2 separate regions of the Homo sapiens genome follow, and region 1 is linked to region 2. The links are contacts of gene promoters, found by promoter capture Hi-C in blood cells and fetal thymus (Javierre and others, 2016). All regions are on one chromosome and are shown on one strand. The core of a region is centred on a gene start or on the middle of the fragment in contact, and the rest is flanking DNA. Distances in the headings are between cores, read along the strand shown. Region 1 holds the start of TSFM (Ts translation elongation factor, mitochondrial). Region 2 overlaps DCTN2 (dynactin subunit 2).

Region 1 (6,995 bases), core at 1,449-3,948, 250 kb before region 2:
AAAAAATAAAAAATAAAAAAATTTAACAGTAAAACAGCTTCAGGCAGGTCCTTCAAGAGGTATTCCAGAAAAAAACATTGTTATCATAGGAGATGACAGGTCCATGCCCGTTACTGCCCCTGAAGACCTTCCAGCAGGACAAGATGTGAAAGTGGAACACAGTGTTAATGATGATGCCACTCCTGTGTAGGCCTAGGCTAATGTATGTGTTTGTGTCTCCGTTTTTAACAAAACAATTTTTTAACTTAAAAAAAGTTTTGGCCAGGCGCTGTGGCTCACGCCTGTAATCCCGACACTTTGGGAGGCTGAGGTGGGCGGATCACAAGGTCAGGAGATCGAGACCATCCTGGCTAACACGGTGAAACCCTGTCTCTACTAAAAATACAAAAAATTAGCCGGGCGTGGTGGCGGGCGCCTGTAGTCCCAGCTACTCAGGAGGCTGAGGCAGGAGAATGGTGTGAACCTGGGAGGTGGAGCTTGCAGTGAGCCAAGATTGTGCCACTGCAGTCCAGCCTGGGGGACAGAGTAAGACTCTGTCTCAAAAAAAAAAAAAAAAAAAAAAAAAAAAGATATTTCAATAAAAAAAGTTGTTGTTTTTTTTTTTGAGACAGAGTTTCACTCTTATTGCCCAGGCTGGAGTGCAATGGCACGATCTCGGCTCACCACAACCTCCGCCTTTTGGGTTCAAGAGATTATCCTACCTCAGCCTCCCGAGTAGCTGGGATTACAGGCCCTTGCCACCACACCAGGCTAATTTTATTTTTTTTTAGTAGAGACGAGGTTTCTCCGTGTGGGTCAGGCTAGTCTCGAACTCGCAACCTCAGGTGATCCGCTTGCCTCAGCCTCCCAAAGTTCTGAGATTACAGGCATGAGCCACCACGCCCAGCCAAAAAAAGTTTAAAATTTTAAAAACAGAAAAAAGCTCACAGAAAAAGTGCATAAAGAAAAATATTTTGGTACAGCTGTACAATATGTGTTTTATGCTGTTATTACAAAAGAGTCCAAAAATTTAAAACATGTTAAAAGTTTATAAAATAAAAATGTTACATTAAACTAAGGTTAACTTATTATCACAGAAAAAAATTTCTTATAAATGTAATGTAGCTTATGTGTACTGTGCTTTAACGTCTACTATAGTGCACCATAGTGTCCTAAGGCAGGCCTTCATATTCACTCACCACTCACTGACTCACCCAGAGCAACTTCCAGTCCTGCAAGCTCCATACATGATAAGTTCCCTATGGAGATGTATCGTTTTTTATCTTTTATGCCTATTTACTGTACTTTTTCTATGTTTAGATACACAATACTTACCACTGTGTTACAACTGCCTACAGTATTCAGTCCAGTAACATTTTGTAACGGTTTGTAGCCTAGGAGCAGCTGGCAATTCCATATAGCCCAGGTTGTAGTACAATATACCATCTAGGTTTGTGTAGGTACTCTATGATGTGCATAAGCCAAAATCTCCTAACGACGCCATTTCTCAGAATGTATCTTCCTATTAAGAGACGCATGACCGTACAGGCAAAAACTACACAACTCTGAAAGATTAAGATGTCTAAAGTCAGCCGGGCGCGGTGGCTCACTCCTGTAATCCCACCACTCTGGGAAGCCGAGGCGGGCGGATCACCTGAGGCCAGGAGTTCGAGACCAGCCTGGCCGACACGGCGAAACCCCATCTCTACTAAAAATACAAAAAAAAATAAAAAATAAAAAATAAAATAGCCGGGTGTCGTGGCGCACGCCTGTAATCCCAACTACTCAGGAGGCTGAGGCAGGAGAATCGCTTGAACCCGGGAGGCGGAGGTTGCAGTGAGCCAACATCGTGCCATTGCACGCCGGCCTGGGCCACAGAGCAAGACTCCGTCTGAAAAAAAAAAAAAAAGTCTAAAGTCAGACAGTGTGGGGGCCCCACAATTTGACTCCTGAACAATCTGACTCCAAAGCTCACACAAACCCTTTCAGCTCCAGGCAACAAGAAACACCGTAACAGTCTGGTTTGTTAATCCTGGGATACTCAACTGCTTTCAAATAAGACAAAGTCAAGGCCAAGGTTGTCATTTAAGCCAGATTTCCACTTAGGACTGTGCCATTATGGTCACTGAAGAGCAGTCTAACTTTATGCTCCCCAGCGTGACCGCCCCAAGAGTCTGAGGTCGAGCTCTAGTACTCCGCCCTGCACCCCTCCACACACACACCTGTTTGAGGTCCCCGCCACAAGTCTCCAGAGCTTTCTTGCAATTTACAAAGGAGTAGCCTGTTTTCCGCCGCAGCTTCATGAGGAGCTCCTTGCTGGAGGCCGAGGCAGACAGACGGGGCCCAGCATAAAATGTGTGCCTTGGCTGGGGCGACTGACGCAGAAGAGACCCAGCCTAGATGAGATAAGAAAGGGATGAGGAGCAGGAAGCAGCAAACTCCAGAGGGTGAAGGGTACACGGGCAGGGAAGCGACCTTAGGGAGCGGACAGTGTGCAAAGGGGGGTGCACCGGGGCTGGACTGGGCAGAGGCAATGCTGTCGGGGAAGGTGAGATGGAGTCAAACGAGGTTGGGAGGAAGGGAAAGGTACAGGCGCACAGGAGAGCTGCAGGGACAGCAGGTCGGTACCAGCACCAGGACTTCTCACCGGGTAGCTCCCGGTCCGCGCGACCAGAAACACGCGCAGCGACCGCAGCAGCGACATCTCTCTAGCCGCGATAAACACCCTCCGGCGGGCGCACTGGTGAGGCAACAAACCTACGGCGCGGCGGAAGGGCCAGAATTCTCCAGCGGAACGCACCAAACGAGTATGGTGCCACCTGCTGGCCGGAGGAACACAGTCCTCGCCTCTACTTGATTTCTTGAGACGACACATTTCATACGGGAATTACCCCCCACCTCCCACCCCAGGTAAAATAACAGAAACCAAGAAATAAAGTCGTCACAAAACAACAACACAAGAAATGTGGGTAACATTTTATGTTTATTTTCAATGCGCATTTATATTCATTATCCATTTATGACTCACAACAAACTTGTGTGGTTGGTGAATGGGTTCGAGAATTTGTCCAAGGTCACCTAGGAAGGCAGGGGTGGAATCCATTAAACAAAGCGAGTAAATATTTATTGAATGAGCACAATATCTGTTGAACACCTGTTGTGTGCCAGGAACTGTGTTAGGCTTCAGGGGTTTAGACAGGAGTAAACCACAGCCCTACCCTCCAAGGTAATTTAATGGTGAGAAAATGAGAATCACAAATGTCCATGCAAGACAAATTAAGGTCCCATAAGATGAACCTTATGGGTCTCAGGGAGAAAGAAATCACATTCAAGCAAGAGGCTCAGGAAAGAGGCAAAGAATAATGAAGATTTTGACAGGTGGCAATAGCCTTTCAGGCAGAGGATTATCATAAAGAGTGTGAAAGAAGTCAGAAAACTTTAGTGTGGTTTTAGAGAACAAAGAGTACATCTTTTGTAATTTGGCCAGAGGTCCAATACACGTAGCAAAGGAGTAGGAAATGCAATAGGAAGGTAATTTTGGATCACATGGACACAGACTAAGTACCAAGCAGAGGAGCTTGTTCTTGCTTCTACAGGAAGTGAAAGCTAATCAGAGCTAATTTTGGAAGATCACAAGAGTTTGCGGAATGGACTGAAGGAGAAAGCATGGAAGCAGGGAGTCCAGAGAAGGTGACTATGTGCCTAAGCAGTAAGTAAAGAGAGCCCCAACCAGAAGTACCAATGTGGGAAGAGAAAAGAGGTTAAGGCAAAACACATTAGGAACTGTGTTAGGCTTCAGGGGATTAGAGATTAGGAAGGAAGGACTGATGAAGCTAAAGAAAAATCAAAGATGAAAAGAACTTAGTACTAGGTACAGTATTCTTCTGCACACAATGATGTTCCGTGATCAAGGCTCTAACTCTGGAAAGCATGAAGAAATACAGTCCAAAGGACAGCTCTGCAGCCTTAGCTTCAGAGCTAGGAGGACTTGACCCAGTTAGAGCCATGGTTCCACTAGACTCTATCTCTAAAAAGCAGGAAATGGGTGGTTTGAGGCTTCTTCCTTCTCAGCTCCTGAGTAAAAGTTGGGTTCTTGCACAATAGATTTTTAAGGCTTAATTCTTTCTTAAAAAAAAAAAAAAATCCTAGGCTAGCACAGTGGGCCATGCCTGCAATCCCAGCACTTTGGGAGGCAAGGCGGGTGGATCACTTGAGCCCAGGAGTTTGAGACCACCCTGGGCAACATGGCGAAACCCTGTCTCTACTGAAAATACAAAAATTAGCCGGGTGTGGTGGCGCATGCCTCTAGTCCCAGCTACTTGGGGAGCTGAGGCAGGAAGATCATCTGGGCCTTCAGAGGTTGAGGCTGCAGTGAGCTGTGATCACACCACTGCACTCCAGCCTGGATGACAGAGTGAGACCCTGTCTCAAAAAAAAAGAAAAAAAGAAAAAAAAATCCCACAGAATTTTTTTAAAGTCCATTCTGTGTAAACAGCAACAGGAATGGAAGTGATCAGTGACAGTCTGTCTACAATCACTGCTCTCACATCCCATATATCTCCCTTACCCCCTAAAAATCCTGGATACCTTACCATCCTCCTTCTCTGAGAACAGGAGCCAGGAACCTCCTTGGTGTTCTAACACTAGTGCTGCCAGAACTCTGGGATTCCTTGTAAGCAGGCACCTCACTGCACCTGCCCAAGAGTATCTGGGGTAACAAAGAGGGAAGGAGGAAAGTGAGAGAGGCCAGGGAAATCCATCCTTTTTGGTCCTCATGTTTGTGGCTCTGGAAATATGGTTTTTGAGATACACAGTTCCTTCATTAGAGCAAGAGATTGAGAAGAACAGCAAGGGTGATGTCAAGCAGGTCTTGGTTCCCTGTGCCTGGCCCTATAGATGTTGACATTTTCATCCTCATCCCGCTGAGCCAGCTCCAGTTGGAAATGCTGGGGCAGGAGGTGCTGAAAGAAGCTCTCTGTCCCATGCTCCTTTCTCATCTTGGAGGCCAGATAGATGGTGCCATGGGGCCTGCACAGGTGTTGGAGGGTCCCCAGCAGCAGAGGGAAGGTGGGTTCCAGGTACACGATATCAGCCCCCAGCACCAGGTCATAGTTTGCAGGGAAGACATGATGGTCAATCCCCCAGGACAAGGCACGCACCTGGGCCTGGCCTCCAGCTGGCACATTGGCCTGGACGTTGCCCTGGATCTGTTCTAGGGCCAGGGGCAGGTCAGTGATGGTAACATCCCCCCCTGAGAGAGAGGAAGGAGGAAAAATGCAAGTCAGAGGAACCAACCAAGGGTTCTTGGCTCCTGCCTGGAAGGTCCAGAGACCTCAGAGCATAGAGGACAATGTCTTGACAGCCCAGAGCCCACACTGGCTTTTAGTTGCCTCAACCTCCATTTCACCCACTGCTATTCTCATTACTCTACATTCTACAACATCAACATTCTCTCTGAGCTAATCTTCAACCTCTCTGGCCAACACACAACAATCAGATGTCAGCAGAAGCCTGGGCAGGACTAAGCTGGAGATGGGTTCTGTACCCACCCCCACTGACACAAGCTCGCCTTAAGGGTCTGGAAAGCTTCCCAGAAAATGTGACCTCAGCTGAGCCCTAAAGGACAAGTAGGAGTTAGTCAGGTGGAGCTTTCCAAGAAGAGAACAGTGAGTACAAAGGCCTGGGAGTGAAAGAGCATGGCATATTCAGGAAAGGCTGCATCTTAGAGGATGTGGAAGGGGGAGAAAAGTGTCAAGACATGAGACAAAGGGAAAGTGATTATGACATGCTAAGAAGATTCAGGTTCGATACTGAGGGCAGTAAGCTTTAAGGGCAGAAACGGGTGAAGATGGTCAGATTAGCATCTCAGAAACCTTCATTCATGCAGTAGATATAATTTGGAGAACCTTCTAAGTGCTGGGTATATAAGGTGAGCAAGACAAAAACACAGCTTTCTTTGTTTCATTCTAGAGGTAGAGACACACTAGGTACTGCATCATAATCATGATGACTATGATAGAAAGAGAAGCAAGAAGTACTAGGAATCCATTCATTCATTCATATTTATTATGTGCCTATATGCCAAGTGCTGAGAACATAATGATGAACTAAGAAGATAAGAATCCCCCCTCACAGAGCTTATGGTCCAGTGGCAAGAAACAGATGATAACAACAAACAAAATAAATAAAATAAAATACACTGTACATCAGATGGTAATATATGCCATGGTGAAGCCCCAAGCAGGGAAGGGGGATAAGAATTGCTTGAGGGATGGGGAGAAATGCAAGTTAGAGGGACCAACCAAGGGTTCTCGGCTCCTACCTGGAAGGTCCAGAGACCCCAGGGCATAGAGGACAAAGTCTTGGCAGCCTGAATGTAATTTTAAATTGAGTGGCTGGAGAATGAAATTTTAAATTGAGTGGTCAGACCAGCCTGACCAAAATGGTGAAACCCCATATCTACTAAAAATACAAAAAAATTAGCTGGGTGTGGTGGCGGGCGCCTGTAATGCCAGCTACTAGGGAGGCTGAGGCAGGAGAATCGCTTGAACCTGGGAGGCGAAGGTTGCAATGAGCCGAGATTGTGCCATTGCACTCCGACCTGGGCAACAAGTGCAAGACTCTGTCTCAAAAAAAAAAGAATGGCACACGCTGGCATGCTTTAGGAGGAGCATGCTGGCTGCTATGATGAGAAGAGTACAGGAGGGCAAGGTCAGAAGCTAGGAGACCAGTTAGGAGGTGATGGCAATGACTCAGGTGAGAGATGATGATGGTTTAAACCAGGGCAGTAGCAATGGCTAAGAAATGGTCAGATCCTGAATATATTTTGAAGGTAGAGTCAACAGGATTTGCCAATAGATTGGATATAAAATATGAGAGAGAGAGAAAAGCTTGGGATGGGCCAGGCACAGTGGCTCACGCCTGTAATCCCTTTGGATTACACTTTGGGAGGCCAATGCGGGATGACTGCTTGAGTCCAGGAGTTTGAGACCAGTCTGGGCAACATAGCAAAACCT
Region 2 (6,888 bases), core at 4,345-6,844:
ACCCTTCCACCTCAGCCTCCTGAGTAGCTGGGACCACAGGCACGTGCCACAATACCCAGCTATTTTATATTTTTTGTAGAGTTGGGGTTTCCCTATGTTGCCCAGGCTGGTCTTGAACTCCTGAGATCCACCCGCCTTGGCCGAACTTTGGGAGGCCGAGGCGGGTGGATCACTTGGAATTAGGATCCTCCCAAAGTGCTGGGACTACAGACAGGCTTGAGCCACCATTGCCCGGCTGTCTATTTAAAAAAAAAAAAAAATTATAAGTGATTCTAACATGCAGCCTGGGGTGAGAACCATTGTTCTAGGTGAAAGAAGGAAGGCTCATTTTGCCTTCCTCCCATAGAAGGTAGAGATGTCATCCCCAACAGAAAAGGACTCCTGGGTCTCCCTCCTACTTCCATCAGTACTCTGTTGGGAGCTGTCAGGCTTCTGACAATTGAAAAAGGGACATGCAGTCAGGAGTGCTTGGTGCAGTCTTGGTGTTGTCACTGGAATCTGAACAGCATGTAGATATCTAGTAAGGAGGGAACCTCTCTGCTTCAGTTTCTAGGGTGAAGTCTCTTTCACCGCCTACTTGTGTCCCCTGTTTTTGGAAGAGCTTCAGTGCTTAAAGCATAGCAGAGGAGTCAGGGAGAAAAATCAGGTGCTGCAGCGTCTCTGAAGAGATGCTGGTTTATCTCCATTTCAGAGCTTACATGTGGCTCTTGCCCATGGATACTCTTGGCAAGCAGATATTGCCTATGTTTGTTGCTTCTAAGATGTCCCATAAAGATAATCCAGTAAGCCCTTGCCCCTTCTCCCTGTCCCTGAGTTCGCTGGCCTCATGGCAGCCTGGAAATCAGGCTTCTGGTCAGGCCCTCTGTCGGCCTTCTTTTTGTACTAAGAGCTTGTGTCTTACCTTCAACAGGTTTAAAGTCCTAATATTCACACTCAGTGTTAGTGGCCTGATTATCTGCCTTCCCTCCTCTTTCCTTCTAGCAAGGATGGGAGGTTAGCATTAAAATGGACTTGCTCAGCGGGCAAGATTTACTTTTGGGAGGGGGAGGTTAAAAGAGGTCAGGTTGGTTTCTTGCCTTGAGTGCATGGCGTGTGCCAGACAACTGGGAGGGGTAGCATGGGGGGATGGGAAGGCTTATGTACAGAGAGGGTGGGGAGGTTATGCTCCCTCTGCTCCCAGTTGAATGAGGGTGTTAATATTTATACAACTGAGGCTCCAAATTTACCAGGAAGCTTCAGTTTCCTAGGTTAAGCCTGGGTAGGCGCCTTGGAATAGAGCCACCCTTCTTTCCCCTTGGACAAGTAGGGCCCAGTCACCTAATGGTTTGGGGATTTTGTGGGGTAGAGTAAGTTCTAGAGTGGGAATGAGTGTGTCCCTGGCCTAAACTACCTGTTCTTGCAGGAGGAGCTGACAAGCACAAGTGTGGAACACATCATTGTCAATCCTAATGCTGCCTATGACAAGTTCAAGGACAAGAGAGTGGGGACAAAGGGACTTGGTGAGACTGGGCTGGAAGCTGGGTGGGGGGAAGACTGGAGGATAAGCATGAGAAGTGGTTTCCTGTCCTAAAGTCTTAGTGAGTTGTGCTTGGGGGAAGGGGTCCCTCATGGAGATATTTTATGGAAGCCCTCACAGTCACCTGAGACCATGACTGCCTTGGGCCTAGATCAGGCCCTCAGTTCCATCTTCTTTTCTTGGCAGATTTCTCAGATCGTATTGGAAAAACCAAGAGGACAGGATATGAATCTGGAGAATATGAGATGGTTTGTTGTGTGTGTGTGTGTGTTGATGGGAATGGTGTAGTGACCCTATCTAGCAGACATGTAGTAGGGAGATCAAGGGATACAGGCGGGATTCTGTTCCTCCTCTGTTCCTGAGGAAGCAGCAGGATGCAGCCAGGGAAACTCTGCCCTACTGCTGTTTGTTCTGGAGAGCCTCCAGCCCTCTAGCTGTCCTCAGTTCTTTGGTACTAGGGTGTTGTGGATTCTCAATTGGATATGATACCTTTATGACTTAGGCCCAGGGTGTGGATGAATTCTTGAGGCTCCCTGTAATGAGACATATAACATTACCCTCTGTGCCTGCTCTCTAGCTTGGAGAGGGTCTGGGAGTGAAGGAGACACCCCAGCAAAAGTACCAGCGCCTACTGCATGAGGTCCAAGAGCTGACAACTGAAGTTGAAAAAATCAAGGTAACTACAAACTCTCTTCTCCCTTCTCTGCTGTGACTTACACAGTAGAGGAAGACCTCAAGCAAGAAGAGAAAGATTCCCTGCCTGGCTGGGTGCGGTGGCTCACGCCTATAATCCTACCACTTTGGGAGGCCGAGGCAGGCGGATCACCTGAGGTCAGGAGTTCAAGACCAGCCAGGCCAACATGATGAAACCCCATCTGTACTAAAAAAATACAAAAACTTAGCCAGGTGTGGTGGCGCATACCTGTAATCCCAGCTACTCGGGAGGCTAAGGCAGGAGAATTGCTTGAACTCGGAGGCGGAGGTTGCAGTGAGCCCAGATCATGCCACTGCACTCCAACCTGGGTGACAGAGCGAGACTCCATCTCAAAAAATGAAAGAAAGAAAGATTCCTTAAGCTCCTGGATAAAGGGGCTAAGGTTTCCAGAGTTTACAAATATGCATCCATCTGTATGCAGTGCTACATACAGGTGGGCAGTCTGTCATGCTGAAAACCATCCCAGTGACCTCCAGCTACAACTACCTTTAAAGGGCTTGACCTATTTTTTTGCTTCTTGATTCATTCTTGCCATCCCCCGATTTCTACCTTTTTTCATACTAGACGACAGTGAAGGAGTCAGCCACAGAGGAGAAGCTGACCCCTGTGTTGCTGGCTAAACAGCTGGCAGCCCTGAAGCAGCAGCTGGTTGCTTCCCACCTGGAGAAGCTGCTGGGACCAGATGCTGCAATCAACCTTACCGACCCCGATGGCGCCCTGGCTAAGTGGGTACCCTACTTTGTTGAAAAATCATTGCTGACTGGGGTTGTGGATGGACTCAGCCAGCTACTGACAGGGGTGCTAAGTGGCAGAGAAGTGGCTTAGATGTTTCTTAATGCTGATTATGAGGCAAAAGTGAGGGAGAGTGACTGGCCCTTCTCCTTCCAGTCATGATATTATTACTCGGTCTCCTAACTAGGCGCCTACTACTGCAGCTGGAAGCAACAAAGAACAGCAAAGGGGGATCAGGGGGAAAAACCACTGGGACCCCCCCAGATAGCAGCCTTGTCACTTATGAACTACATTCTCGGCCTGAGCAGGACAAGTTCTCTCAAGCTGCCAAAGTAAGTGTGGATACAGTGTTGGTTGGGAAGCCAAGGGGAGATGTGACCCTAGAGATTTTCCTGCCTCTCTCCAAGGAGAGGGTGCTGGGAAGGCTTCTGATTCCTCTGATTCCTCTTGATTGATTCCTCTTTTGATTCCTGATTCGTTGTTCTCTATGTTTCTTTCTTTTTTTTTTTTTTTTGAGACGGAGTCTTGCACTGTTTCCCAGGCTGGAGTGCAGTGGCGCAATCTTGGCTCACTGCAAGCTCCGCCTCCCGGGTTCACGCCATTCTCCTGCCTCAGCCTCCTGAGTAGCTGGGACTACAGGCACCTGCCACCACGCCCGGCTCATTTTTTGTATTTTTGGTAGAGATGGGGTTTCACCATGTTAGCCAGAATGGTCTCGATCTCCTGACCTCGTGATCCGCCCGCCTCGGCCTCCCAAAGCACTGGGATTACAGGCGTGAGCCACCGCGCCCGACCTCATTCTCTATGTTTCCCTCGCCCATCTACCTTTGGTTAGGATTTTAAGATTGTGGCTAGGTATGTATTCCAGGGAAAGGAATCCCTTGGGGTGGTGAGTGGCAGGCAGAGTAGAGCAGGATCGTATTCCTCCCATTGCAGCAGCAGGGAAGCAGATGGCAAATCTCACCTCCTTCCTCCCACTAGGTCGCAGAACTTGAAAAGCGCCTGACAGAGCTGGAGACAGCTGTACGTTGTGATCAGGATGCTCAGGTCAGGTGTTCTCCTGTACATAATCTGAGCCTTAGATCCTGCAACTCTAGGCCTTAAGGTCTACAACATTCCACATAAGCCTGGGAGGAGTCATCAAAGGGCTTCAGTTACAGGGATCAGCTAGTGGGTTCCCAGCTAGAACCAGGAAAGATGGGAGAAGACGATAATCATGGAGATATAAGGACCACTCACTTCTTCCCTTCCTTTCCCACCAGAATCCCCTTTCTGCAGGTCTACAGGGAGCCTGTCTCATGGTGAGTTTGGAAGAAACTGGAGTGTTTGGATCACAGAGGGGATAGTTGGGTTTGGGTTTGCTTTGAGGATTATTTTTGAGTTTGTAGCTATATATTAATTTAGTGGAATATGGGAGGCCTCTTGCTAGTCTGCCTTTCCTCTTCATGATGCTTGTCCCAACTTCCATCCCCAGGAGACTGTAGAGCTGTTGCAAGCAAAGGTGAGCGCCCTAGACCTTGCAGTTTTGGATCAAGTGGAGGCTCGGCTACAGGTATTAAATGGAGGGAAAATTAAATTATGGATAGCTTGGGACTCTGGAAGCCCTGGATGCCCTATCAACCTTAAAATCTGTGTTTTCAGAGTGTCCTGGGAAAGGTGAACGAGATTGCCAAGCATAAAGCCTCTGTAGAAGATGCAGATACACAAAGCAAGGTCAGGAAGACACCTTCCCCATCTCCTTTCCACTCCCTCAGGTTCTCCGAGTGGCAGTGTCAAAGCATGAGAACACACTGACTCCTCAGGTCCCCATCTTCATAAGCTCTTATGAAGAGCTTATCAGCTTGGAAAGTCAGGGCACTGCTTCCCTCTGCCCACTTGATCCTTTCCCCCATTACGGTGAAATAGCAGTCTGTACATACTGACCTGGCTGCCTCAGCCATCCCCTCTGGGCCCCATTGTGTCCCTTCAGGTGCACCAGCTATATGAAACTATACAGCGCTGGAGCCCCATTGCCTCCACCCTCCCTGAGCTGGTGCAGAGACTTGTCACCATCAAGCAGCTGCACGAGCAAGGTGGGAGGCCAGCTGCCAGGAGTGCTAAGAGAAGTTGAAAAATGGGCAACTTTTGGTCCCCTCCCTTATCTTGGATTCAAGTCTCAACCATACTTTTCTTTTGTAGCCATGCAGTTTGGTCAGCTCCTGACACACTTGGATACCACCCAGCAGATGATTGCTAATTCCTTGAAGGACAATACCACCCTCTTGACCCAGGTGTGTGCCCCTTTGTTGATCTGTCCTCCTTTCTCCAGCATGTGCAAACTAGGTTCTCCAGTGTTATAGGGTTCTGCCTTAGCCTATTTTGTAGCATGGTGTTGTGGCAGGGGGTTGGTCTGGAGTCTCCATCCTGCTTTCAATGTGAAGGCCCTTTGACAACTTATTTAACCTATGAACCTCCATCTTTCCATCTGGGAAATTATACCTCCCTCAGAGTTATGTAGATGAGGTGAAATAATATGGGCAAATTGTTAGGGGCTAGTGAACATGTTTTCTTATAAAACCCCACTCTTTCCCTTTGTCGTCTCAACTTTACTCTCCCTGATAAGCACAGTACACTGGAAGGAATCCGGGCTTTGAAGTCAGAAGCAGGCCCTAATCTCGTTCTGTCGCTTCCTTTCTGGCCCTGGACAATGAGCCTCACCTAGCTCCTTCATTCTTTTAGTAATGCCTGGCACACAGCAAGTCCACAATTTCTTATTGTTTTTTATTTTTAAGACAGAGTCTCGCTCTGTTGCCCAGGCTGGAGTGCAGTGGTGTGATCTCAGCTCACTGCAGCCTCCACCTCCCGGGCTCAAGCAATTCTCATGCCTCAGCCTATTGAGTAGCTGGGATTACAGGCACGCACCACCACACCTAATTTTTTTTTTTAGTAGAGACGGGGTTTCACCATGTTGTCCAGGGTGGTCTCAAACTCCTGACCTCAAGTGATCCCACCCATCTCGGCCTCCCAAAGTGCTGAGATTACAGGCGTGAGCCACTGCACCTGGCCGCAAGTCCCAATTTCTGTTGGAGGCACTGTTCTCAGTGCTGGAAGGAGCATTAAAGTCGAGAGACCAGCATCAATCACAGGATCACTGAGATAAATGAAAAAATATATAAAGGACTTAGAATAATATCCTTTTCCTCCAGAGCAGTTTTCTAACATTTTGAACCAGTGAAACCCTCATTTCAACAAAATCTTATTTAGCTCTCATTACATAAAACAGATTTTAAAAAACTGTTCTGGCTGAAGTCAGGATGGGAATTCTCGAGTCCTACCTGCTTGGGCTCACCCCAAGCGTGGTCTATGTACTCTAAGGGTAGCTTGAAAATTGGTGCTATAAACATCCCCCCTCTGTGGCCCACAAATTGTGCTTCCATTTCTTGTCTTCTCTCTCAGAGAATTCCTTCAGGTCCTCATCCAGTTAAGCAACTGGACCTGACAAAGAGTAAAACCTCTCTACCACTTTGTAGGTGCAGACAACCATGCGTGAAAACCTGGCCACAGTTGAGGGGAACTTTGCCAGCATTGATGAACGGATGAAGAAGCTGGGAAAGTGAGCACATTTGGGAGCTGGAGAACAGGGGTTATCCCTACCCCTGTGAACTCTGTTAACAGCTTACATAGGGTTTCCCCTTTACTATAACTCTAGCATCCCCATCCCATTTGACACTGGGGGCAAGGGTTCTTCTTGCATGTGGGGTTTATACCCCTCCCCTGATGAATACAGAGTGGTAGCTAGGGGTTGGTTATCATCAGAAGGTGGTCTCCCCTCAGGCCTGGGGGATAAGGACGTGGGCCCAGCCACATGCCAACTCATGTCCAATACTGCTTTGCCTGGTGTGGGGAAGGATTGGGTCTTGTCCCCCAACACAGCTTCTGTGGCTGA

Evidence for each region. Contacts are between HindIII fragments. The CHiCAGO score rates a contact against its expected background, and 5 or more counts as called.
Region 1: a contact is called between the fragment with the promoter of TSFM here and a fragment that was not itself captured in region 2, in 4 of 17 cell types (non-activated CD4 T cells, neutrophils, M1 macrophages and 1 more). The highest score is 6.4, in non-activated CD4 T cells.

Annotation. Positions count from the first base shown.
Region 1 is chr12:57,778,490-57,785,484 of GRCh38, reverse strand. TSFM (Ts translation elongation factor, mitochondrial) reads right to left here and starts at 2,698. Exons shown (of 6, transcript NM_005726.6): 1 at 2,627-2,698; 2 at 2,202-2,375. The coding sequence starts at 2,683. It overlaps EEF1AKMT3 (EEF1A lysine methyltransferase 3), which reads right to left. Exons shown (of 3, transcript NM_015433.3): 3 at 2,944-5,230. The coding sequence ends at 4,839. RefSeq lists enhancers at 2,645-2,714, 2,068-2,937. The HindIII fragment of the contact is 6,425 bases long and covers 1-5,567 here.
Region 2 is chr12:57,530,360-57,537,247 of GRCh38, reverse strand. It overlaps DCTN2 (dynactin subunit 2), which reads left to right. Exons shown (of 14, transcript NM_001261413.2): 3 at 1,403-1,499; 4 at 1,703-1,764; 5 at 2,094-2,192; 6 at 2,796-2,956; 7 at 3,151-3,295; 8 at 3,945-4,010; 9 at 4,226-4,264; 10 at 4,438-4,515; 11 at 4,605-4,676; 12 at 4,933-5,035; 13 at 5,142-5,233; 14 at 6,473-6,888. The coding sequence ends at 6,559. It also overlaps a transcript of MBD6 not described here. Among named protein-coding and RNA genes, the nearest start is that of MBD6, 11 kb to the right of the region's middle. The HindIII fragment of the contact is 8,717 bases long and covers 1,236-6,888 here.